Regions from separate parts of the Homo sapiens genome. Here region 2 is linked to region 1. Evidence: promoter capture Hi-C in human tissues and cell types (Jung and others, 2019). All regions are on one chromosome and are shown on one strand. The core of a region is centred on a gene start or on the middle of the fragment in contact, and the rest is flanking DNA. Distances in the headings are between cores, read along the strand shown.

Evidence for each region. The method cuts DNA at HindIII sites, captures the fragments that hold promoters and counts their contacts. A contact is called where the count stands out against the background at its distance.
Region 2: a contact is called between the fragment with the promoter of POU6F1 here and a fragment that was not itself captured in region 1, in 1 of the 25 tissues and cell types used here (aorta).

Annotation. Positions count from the first base shown.
Region 1 is chr12:50,767,036-50,771,610 of GRCh38, forward strand. The region is part of intron 1 of ATF1 (activating transcription factor 1); the gene reads left to right. Among named protein-coding and RNA genes, the nearest start is that of ATF1, 5.2 kb to the left of the region's middle. RefSeq lists enhancers at 1,872-2,372, 2,373-2,873. The HindIII fragment of the contact is 6,244 bases long and covers 1-4,575 here.
Region 2 is chr12:51,216,122-51,220,574 of GRCh38, forward strand. It overlaps POU6F1 (POU class 6 homeobox 1), which reads right to left and starts at 1,941. Exons shown (of 11, transcript NM_001330422.2): 1 at 1,521-1,941. RefSeq lists silencers at 1,115-1,374, 1,605-1,764, 1,965-2,114, 4,222-4,401 and an enhancer at 2,265-2,324. The HindIII fragment of the contact is 30,817 bases long and covers 1-4,453 here.

The sequences.
Region 1 (4,575 bases), core at 1,527-4,026:
AAAAAACATAATTTTCCTTTATGATACGGCTTGGCCCCCAGGGCAATGATGCTGCAAGCTTGAACACTAGGACCACTAAGGGAAAGGGAACCCAGAAGCCTGGGATGCTGGCAAAAGGGTAAGAATGTATTACCAGTCAGATTTCTGGCTTCTCTCTCACTGTACAAATGGTTAAGTGAATGGTTAAAAAAAAAAAAATCAGCCTGGCACGGTGGCTCAGGCCTGTAATCCCAGCACTTTGGGAGGCTGAGGCTGGTGGATCCCCTGAGGTCAGGAGTTTGAGACCAGCCGTGGCCAACATGGTGAAACCCTATCTCTACTAAAAATACAAAAAATTAGCTGGGTGTGGTGGCGTGCGCCTGTAGTCCCAGCTACTTGGGAGGCTGAGGCAGGATAATCACTTGAACCCGGGAGGCGGAGGTTGCAGTGAGCCGAGATCGTGCCACTGCACTCCAGCCTGGCAACAGAGCGAGACTCCATGTCCATCTCAAAAAAAGAAAAAAAAGAACACCTGTAAGCTCGCTTTTCAAGATGACCCAGCAAGCTGGTCAGTAAGATACTTGGCTGCAGGTCCCTGTAACAAATAAAAGACTGGATGAAGTCTCCACCTTGTTTTACGTCCTTGGGAGCTTGACCTTTTAACCATGTGGTGGTACTTTCTTTTGGTCCCCACCTTCAGAGAACAGGAATTTCAGGATTCATGTCATAGTTAGCTCTAAAAATAATATTAAATAGTTAAAAGCCCTTATAAGCTCAAAATTAACTACTCTAGACTCCTTCTGGGAAGGTCAACAGAGACTGCCCTGTGCTGTAGCTCAGTAGCTAAGCTTTTGCACTTTCTTTTTTTTTTTTTTTGAGATGGAGTCTTGCTCTGTCGCCCAGGCTGGAGTGCAGTGGTGCGATCTCAGCTCACTGCAACCTCCGCCTCCCGAGTTCAAGTGATTTGCCTGCGTCATCTTCCCAAGTAGCTGGGATTACAGGTGTGTGCCACTACGCCCAGCTAATTTTTGTATTTTTAGTAGAGATGGGGTTTCATCATATTGGGCAGGCTGGTCTCGAACTCCTGACCTCAGGTGATCCACCTGCCTCAGCCTCCTAAACTGATGGGATTACAGGCATGAGCCACCGCACCCAGCCAGCTTTTGCACTTCCGTGGCAACAGTCCAGGTTCAATTACCCACCTAGGAAGTAAGTCGTTTCTGGTTTAATATCTGCATGACTTTGTCTATTCTCTTCTCCTCTGTGAACTGTCTTATATTTTCCTTTTTCTAAGCACCTGGGAGGTTACCTTTGATAAAATTCAAAAGCCAGAAATACCAGCCGTTTGGCATAAAAACTTCTAAAAGGACTTTATTAAAGAGTGCTATGGTTAAAATAAGTTTAATTAAAAGTGGATATTCAAGCTCTAACAGCCTGGACTCCTTGGGAAAAACAAGAGGCACCAGAGACCCCTTTCGTGGCCCTGTTCTTCCAAGGGCTCCACCCTGAAGCCGGTAATCCAATTAAGAAACTTAAAAACTGGCAAATGAAAAATCTTACAACCACTGTTATCATCATCATCTGTCTTTCTGTGTAGCTATATAGGTGTCGTGTGTAATATTTATATAAAAGAGCTCTGATTAATCAGCTTAAACAAAAATAAACATTTAAATCAAATATTTTGAAAGCAAAATAACTAATGCCTTTTAGTTCATGTAACTTTAGTAATCTTTAGGAAATAAACACATCTTTAAAATTGATAAAAATGTTAATCTTAATTATGCAGGTCAGATATTAAGTTTGTTAAATGATTTGAGGTCATAAACTGTTTCTTTGACTTTTAAAAATTGTTCAATTTACCCTACCTTAAAGCCATTAGATTCTAGATAAGGCCTGGGGACATGTGGAGTTAGCCACGCCCCTAAGCTGTGCTGGAGAGTCAGCTCTTATCTGCACTTCTGCCTGGTGTGTCCTAGGCTAGGCTCCACACCTAGTACATAATTAAAATTGCTTACTAACCAGGGTTTTCACCAAAAGTAAAAGTCGCTAAAAGTTAAAATTGGAACATGTAACTGAGACTATTGAAGAGACAGTTTTACATGTAAGGTGTGTAGTAAGGAAAATAGAATGTACTTTTGGTAAAAGATTATAAGAAGGCATGGAAATGTGGGGTTTTTTGGCTAAAGAGTTAAATAATTATTCTAAGTTGGCCGGGCACAGTGGCTCAAACCTGTAATCCCAGCACTTAGGGAGGTCGAGGCAGATGGATCACCTGAGGTTAGGAGTTTGAGACCAGTCTGGCCAACATGGTGAAACCCCATCTCTATCAAAAAATACAAAAGTTAGCCGGGCATGGTGGCGCACACCTGTAGTCACAGCTACTCGAGGCTGAGGCAGGAGAAGCGCTTGAACCTGGGAGGGGGAGGTTGCAGTGATCTGAGATTGCACCACTGCACTCTATCCAGCCTGGGTGACAGAGCGAGACTCCATCTCAAAAAAAAAAAAAATTCATACAGGAAGCATTATCAAATGTCAAATGGTGTTTTGCTTTCTTTGGATTATATTTACATAACTGTATTATTGGTATATGTTCCAAAGTTATGGGAAACTCCTATAATTCTAATATGATTTAGTGTATGTTATTAATAATTATAATTGTTATGCAAAATATTGTGTGCCACAGAAGTAACCAAATTTCCTTATCATTTCTGGCTTTAATAGTGGCTCTCCTAAAACTTTTTATCATCCACAGACAATTGTTGTCTTGTTTTAATCCTGTTTAGAAGATGATTTATAATCAGCTATAGAACTCTAGCAGGTGTTCTTAAATGCAGGTTTCTAATAACTTTGGAAATTGTAACATTAGAATAGAGGAAACAACTTTCAGAACTCATGAAGAGCTAGAATGTTCATGAATATCAAATGAAACATGAGTTAATTGAATCAACTGAACCAATAGAAAACTGAAGTAATCTTTGATTAAAATGTTGCTGATCCTTTGTTTTGTTTTTCAGAGTCAAGGAAACTTTTCATTTGAGCTATTTACAGTTCATAGCAATTGAGTAAAGTATACTGCTGTGAACGAAATTTGGAACATATTTGTTTCTCTATATCAGATTTCTCCAGAATTTGGAAACTAGTTGTGAGTATTCTTAACTTATGGCAATGTAATTATTTGCATAAGTGCAATAAGAATCTGTTTTCTTTTGTAACAGAATACAATTGGAGAAAGTGGTTATTTTACCAAGGCTTTGACTGAAATGGTGTGCTTTTCTTTAAGGAATCAAACTTGACTTGTAGAGCCAATAAAAGCCCTTTGGGGAACTGGCCTCATACCTTGCCTACACAGTGCCTGTACAGGGTTTCTGACCTATGGTAAGTAAAGAATGTCACTTTCTCACCTGTCCAGGAGCCCCAAGTTATCTTGGGACCTCAAAAGGAGAGAAATTTACCCAAGTTATAGGTATTTAAGGGTACAAACCCATGTCAGGGCTTGGCTTTTAAAAAAGTCTTATCTGAGATTCCTTATGAAACAGAGTTCCATCAAAGCCAATTAAAAAGCCTATGTGAAAAATTATTATTCTTGCTGCACTTTATACAAACAATCAGGCCAAGTATAATAAAGCAAGTCAGTCTTACCATAATTTGTCTTTAGTAAAAATGGGAAACTGGAGAGAGAAATACTATGTTTCAAAAACTATGGTACACTTGTTATTAAATTCTGGTCTCATTAATTGTTTTTAAGTTTGTTTCTGCAATTTAGGCTAACCCTGCGTATTCTTGTAAACCAACCAGTAATCTCTAATTGTTGCTCAGAAGAAATAAGAGGGATGGGTAATTTAAAAATCTGGATCAGTATTCTGATTCTGGGCACATTACAATCAGCTAACAACCCGATATCAGCTTAGTTCCAGTGGTTGCCTGGTTCATGAAAAGTCTTCTAATTTAGTTTATTTGGAATAACTTTACTTATTTTGCTTTACTCTTTTTTTTTTCTTTCTTTCTTTTTGAGACAGAGTCTTGTTCTGTCGCCCAGGCTGGACTGCAGTGACACCATCTTGGCTCACTGCAGCCTCCGCCTCCTGGGTTCAAGTGATTCTCCTGCCTCAGCCTCCCAAGTAGCTAGAATTACAGGCACACATCACAACGCCCAGCTGACTTTTATATTTTTAGTAGAGATAGGGTTTCACCATGTTGGCCAGGCTGGCCTCGAACTCCTGACCTCAGGTAATCCACCTGCCTCGGCCTCCCAAAGTGCTGGATTACAGGTGTGAGCCACTGTACCCAGCCTATTTTGCTTTACTCTTGTGGAATATATTGCTGTTATACTTTTTGTGTAGGAATACAGGACAAGCTTACTGAACGTTTTCTTACTAATTTTCCAGATACCACCTTTTGTTGAAACTTGAGTTATGAATGAACCTTACCATACTGATGCTTTCTGACTGAGCTCCTTTTTACCCTGAATGCAAGAGACCCTCATAGGCAGGCAGGAATATCATTGCCCTATTTAGCCTGAAGAAGTTATAGAAGATGGATCTTCGTCCCTCTGCAACCCTTAGGATTAAGGGTTCTCTTAGACGGGGGGAAATGTCA
Region 2 (4,453 bases), core at 691-3,190, 450 kb after region 1:
AGCCTGGGCAACACGGTGAAACCCCATCTCTACTAAGATACAAAAAAATCAGCTAGACTCTGTCTCAAAAAAAAGAAAATGTAAAAGATTACTCTGATAATTTTATGGTGAGTAAATCTTGGGGACAAGAATATGAGCTTATCCCAAGTTCCTTCAAAATGCAGAAAAACCTTACAGGAGCAAATTTTTTCTGAGTCACTTTTCTTAACTGCCAGCTAGTACTTCCAGGAACAAAACAGAATAAATGGCTACATACACACACACTGACACACAATCACTCTATGGTATTACCTTGTTAGTTTTAATGTTTAGCATCTACTTGTCCACCCCCAGAATAAAAACTCCATGATAGAAGTTTTGTCTGAATTGTTCAGAGCATGGCACTGAGTGGGTATTTTTGTTGAACTAATGAAGAAATGAAGTTCTACAGCAGATAAGCGGAGTACCAGGTCACAGAAGTATCACTTTGAGGACCAGGACTTGAATGAAAATGGAATATATGGAATTATTCCTCAGAAGGCCTCTGCCAGTCAATGGTGGCTGCCTTAGATTGCTAAATAAGGGGCATGGGACACATGTATATGAACAATTGAAGACCAGCCCTCTACTTTTGGAACAAGGAATTTGGGAAGGGCAGATGAGGTTAAAAATCTCTGCAAAGAGCCTCTTTTCTTTGGCCCAGGAATGCTTCCCGAACTCTTCTGATTTCCCCCTGCCCAGCCGCAGAGGCTATTCTGTGAAGGTTTTAGGCTTCCAGTCGGGCTGAGTGGGGTATTCTGCCGCGAAAGTGGAGGTTAGAGGGTATGCTGGGAGCTCCCTTGGCCTTGCCAGGTGAGCCTGCCCAGGGAGCCTGCATCGGGCCCATTATTATGACTATTTATTAATAATAATATCGATATTAAATATTTATGAAGTGCTCATGCTCTGCTAGAAGGTGGCCCTCCCATCACTGACCCACCCTTCCAGCAACGCCTGGGTCCCTACCCCCGGGTCCCACCGGTCGTCCCGGAGTTTGTTCATTCGGGAGAACCGTGACAGGTCACCCTGGCCGCCCCAGCTGGCCCTAACCGCCGGGAACCCAGGCGTCCGTGTTCTCCAGAGAGGCAAGGATCCGCTTCTGGTCGCCACTGGTTCTGTGTACAGAGCGTCCCCTGTGGTCCGCACCCCACAAGGGCTCCAGGGGCAGAAACGGGGAGGGGCCAGGTCGGGGTTCCCCACCGGGTCCACCTGGCGGCCGCCCCCTCCGCTCCAGGTCCAGAGCGGCCCGCGGGCGGGCGAGGGCGCGGCCCCCGGGTGTCTAGCCCCAGCTGGGCAACCGCGCGCTGTCCCGCTCCCGCAGCTCCCCGCCGCCCCGGCCCAGCATCCCGCCGCCCCGGCCCCGCGGCTTTTTTTCTCTTTATCATAAATATATAAATTATGCTAATTACGGGCATTGCATATTAACCAAACCCGAAACCTCCCCTGCCCGGCCCCCTCCCCCTCCGTGCAAACCCCTCCCCGCCCCGGACCCCGCTACTTACCGGAGCCCGAGCCCGAGCCGCCTTCGCCGCGGGTGTCTGGCGGCCACCGATTAGAGATTCATCTCACAGCCCGGGCCAGGGGGCCGGGGCCGGGGCCGGGGCCACGGCGGCCGCCGCCCGCAGACAAAGAAGCCAGTGCGGCTTGGCTGGGCTCGGCTCGGCCCGGGAGCTGGTCGGGACCCGCCGCCGCCCCCAGGCCCCCAGCCTGGGCTGGGCAGAGCCGAAGGGGGCTCCGCAGGCTAAGCCGGGCGGAGAGGGGACGGCCGGGAAGCGGGAAGGGGAAGCCGGGTGGGGGGGCGGTCAGGTATATATTTTTCTTCGTTCCCCCTTCCACGACCCCCCCCTTTTCCCTCCCCCCCTTTTTTCCCTCCTTCTGCTACTTGGATTTTTTTAGCTGCTGCGTCATGAGCATAATTTATGCAAAGAGCTTTGCCGCATGCTGCACCGCCCGCGCCAGCCGCCGGGGGCGGCGGGCTGGGAGGGCGGTCAGGGAAGGGAGGGGAGCACGGGAGCCAGGAGCGAGGGGTGGGGGTGGGGAGGGGACCCTCTGGCCCTGGCCGAGCGGGAGGTCCCGGAGGCTCTCTCCCGGGACAGGGATGGACGGTCAGTGGGTCTGGTTACTCAGCCCCTCCGAGGTGCCGCGGAGGTGGTTTCATTTCGGAAGGTGCCAGAGTAGGAGCTGGAGTCCGGACCCTCCATGCCACATGGCCTTCAGCTGAGGGTTGGGGCGGTGACTCCCGGCCACCGCCTTTCCTCTAGGTAGTCAACTGTCCTCAATGTTGAAAGTCAAGTTTATGTCTATCCCTCCCTCCCTAGAAAGGCGGGGGAACTCAGACATCGCTCAGCCAACGTGGAGAACCTCTGAACAGCTGTGCCCCAGCGCCAAAGCAGCGAAGGGTCCCAGGTCTCTCACCCGGTGGCGGCCGTGGGCTGTGTTGTCTAAAAGCAGATTTCCGGCCTTCTTGTCCAAGTAGACAAGGAAATGTGAACAGAAAGACAAAGTTCAGTGGAATGGTGAAAAACCTCTAGCAGCTTCTTAAGGTAGAGAGGGGACCAGAAAAGGGGTGGATGTGGGTGGCTGAGGGAAAGCAGATTGGAGAAGTGGTGGACAACTGAAAGAGGAAAAAGTTGGAAGACCAAAGTGGAAGCGTGGGAATGGAGAGAAGAACTGGGAAGGAAGGAGGCTCTGTAAATCCAGTGAATGTGGATCCCAATACTGAGGCCACCTGCTGTCATCCTAGGCTGTTCCCCCTCCCACCCTCTCCCGATATTTGGTGGTCTGAGGATAGCTAGAGGTAGATGGGTTAGAGGCAGTGTGAGAATGCAGTTGGAGGCCTCAGTCCTCCCCGGGACTGCTCCGTAAGGCCTCGTGGTGGAAGGGCATTGAATGGCCCGGCCTCGTCGTTAACCTGGCCAGTGGACTAGGCTGTTATCAGCTTGCTGTTTCCATCTGGAAGTGAGCAGGTACTGCTGGCGGCGGATTTATGAGTAACCAATGTATTAGGAGTCAGAATACTTAGGTTTTAGTCCCAACTCTTCCACTAGCCGTCCAGGCAAGTAATTTAACTTCTTCATTACTTATAAAACAAGGATAATATTTATAATGACATTTATAATGACTACTTCATAGGGTTAAGTTTGTGAGCCTGTATGTGAAAAAACTGAAAGCTGCAAGCTCTATACAACTGTAAGGTGTCATTCCTTGTACAATAGTTTGAACTCGTTTTAATGGCCCTGTGAAACTCTACTGCGTGGCTTGATATTACAGTTCTTGGGGTTTTTGTTTGGCCGGTAGTCCCTGTAGTTTCTCTCCCTGGACTGTGAATTCTTTGAGAGCACTGGTTGTGACTTACTCATGTTTGTATTTCCCACTACTCTTTATGTGAAGGAGGGGCTCAGTATTGCTGCTGAACTTTGTCACATGAAGGTTGAAACTTTTCATTTATGTCACTTGGTTTGGTGCTACACATAGATCAAAGGCTTTGGATAGCATGGATATCAGCGACAGTTTGAAGAAAGAAATATGGATGTGATCAGAGGAGTTCAGGGAGACATACATAAAAATGTTAATCACGGTTTTCTTTATGTTGTATACACTTCTGCATTGCTTAAATATTTGATGAGCATATATTACTTTTTGTTTCTGTGTTTATTGGGGCATAACATGTACACAGTATGTGTATACCTTGATAAATTTTTACATGTATATACATATGTACGTGTATGTATGTGTGTATACATATGTACGTGTATGTATGTGTGTATACATATGTACGTGTATGTATGTGTGTGTATACATATGTACGTGTATGTGTGTGTATACATATGTACGTGTATGTGTGTATACATATGTACGTGTATATGTGTGTATACATATGTACGTGTATATGTGTGTATACATATGTACGTGTATATGTGTGTGTACATATGTACGTGTATGTGTGTGTATACATATGTACGTGTGTGTGTATACATATATACACGTGTATAGATACGTGTATACATATATACATGTCTATATATACATGTATATACTCACACACATATATATATCCATGTAATCCCCACCCAAAACAAGATATAGAGCCTTTCCAAGACCTGAGGATTCCCTTATGTACCTTCACCGGCCATAAATTCCCAAAGTAACCATTATTCTGATTTCTGTCACCATAGATTGATTACTTGAGCTGATTCTTGAACTTCTCATAAATGGAATCAGACAATATGCAATCTTTTGTGTTTGGCTTCTGTCACTCAACAAAATTTTTTTTTTTGAGACGGAGTCTTGCTCTGTCGCCCAGGCTGGAGTGCAGTGGTGTGATCTCGGCTCACTGCAACCTCCGCCTCTCGGGTTCAAGTGGTTCTCCTGCCTCAGCCTCCCAAGTAGCTGGGACTGCAGGTGCGTGCCATCACGCCCAGCTAATTTTTTTTTT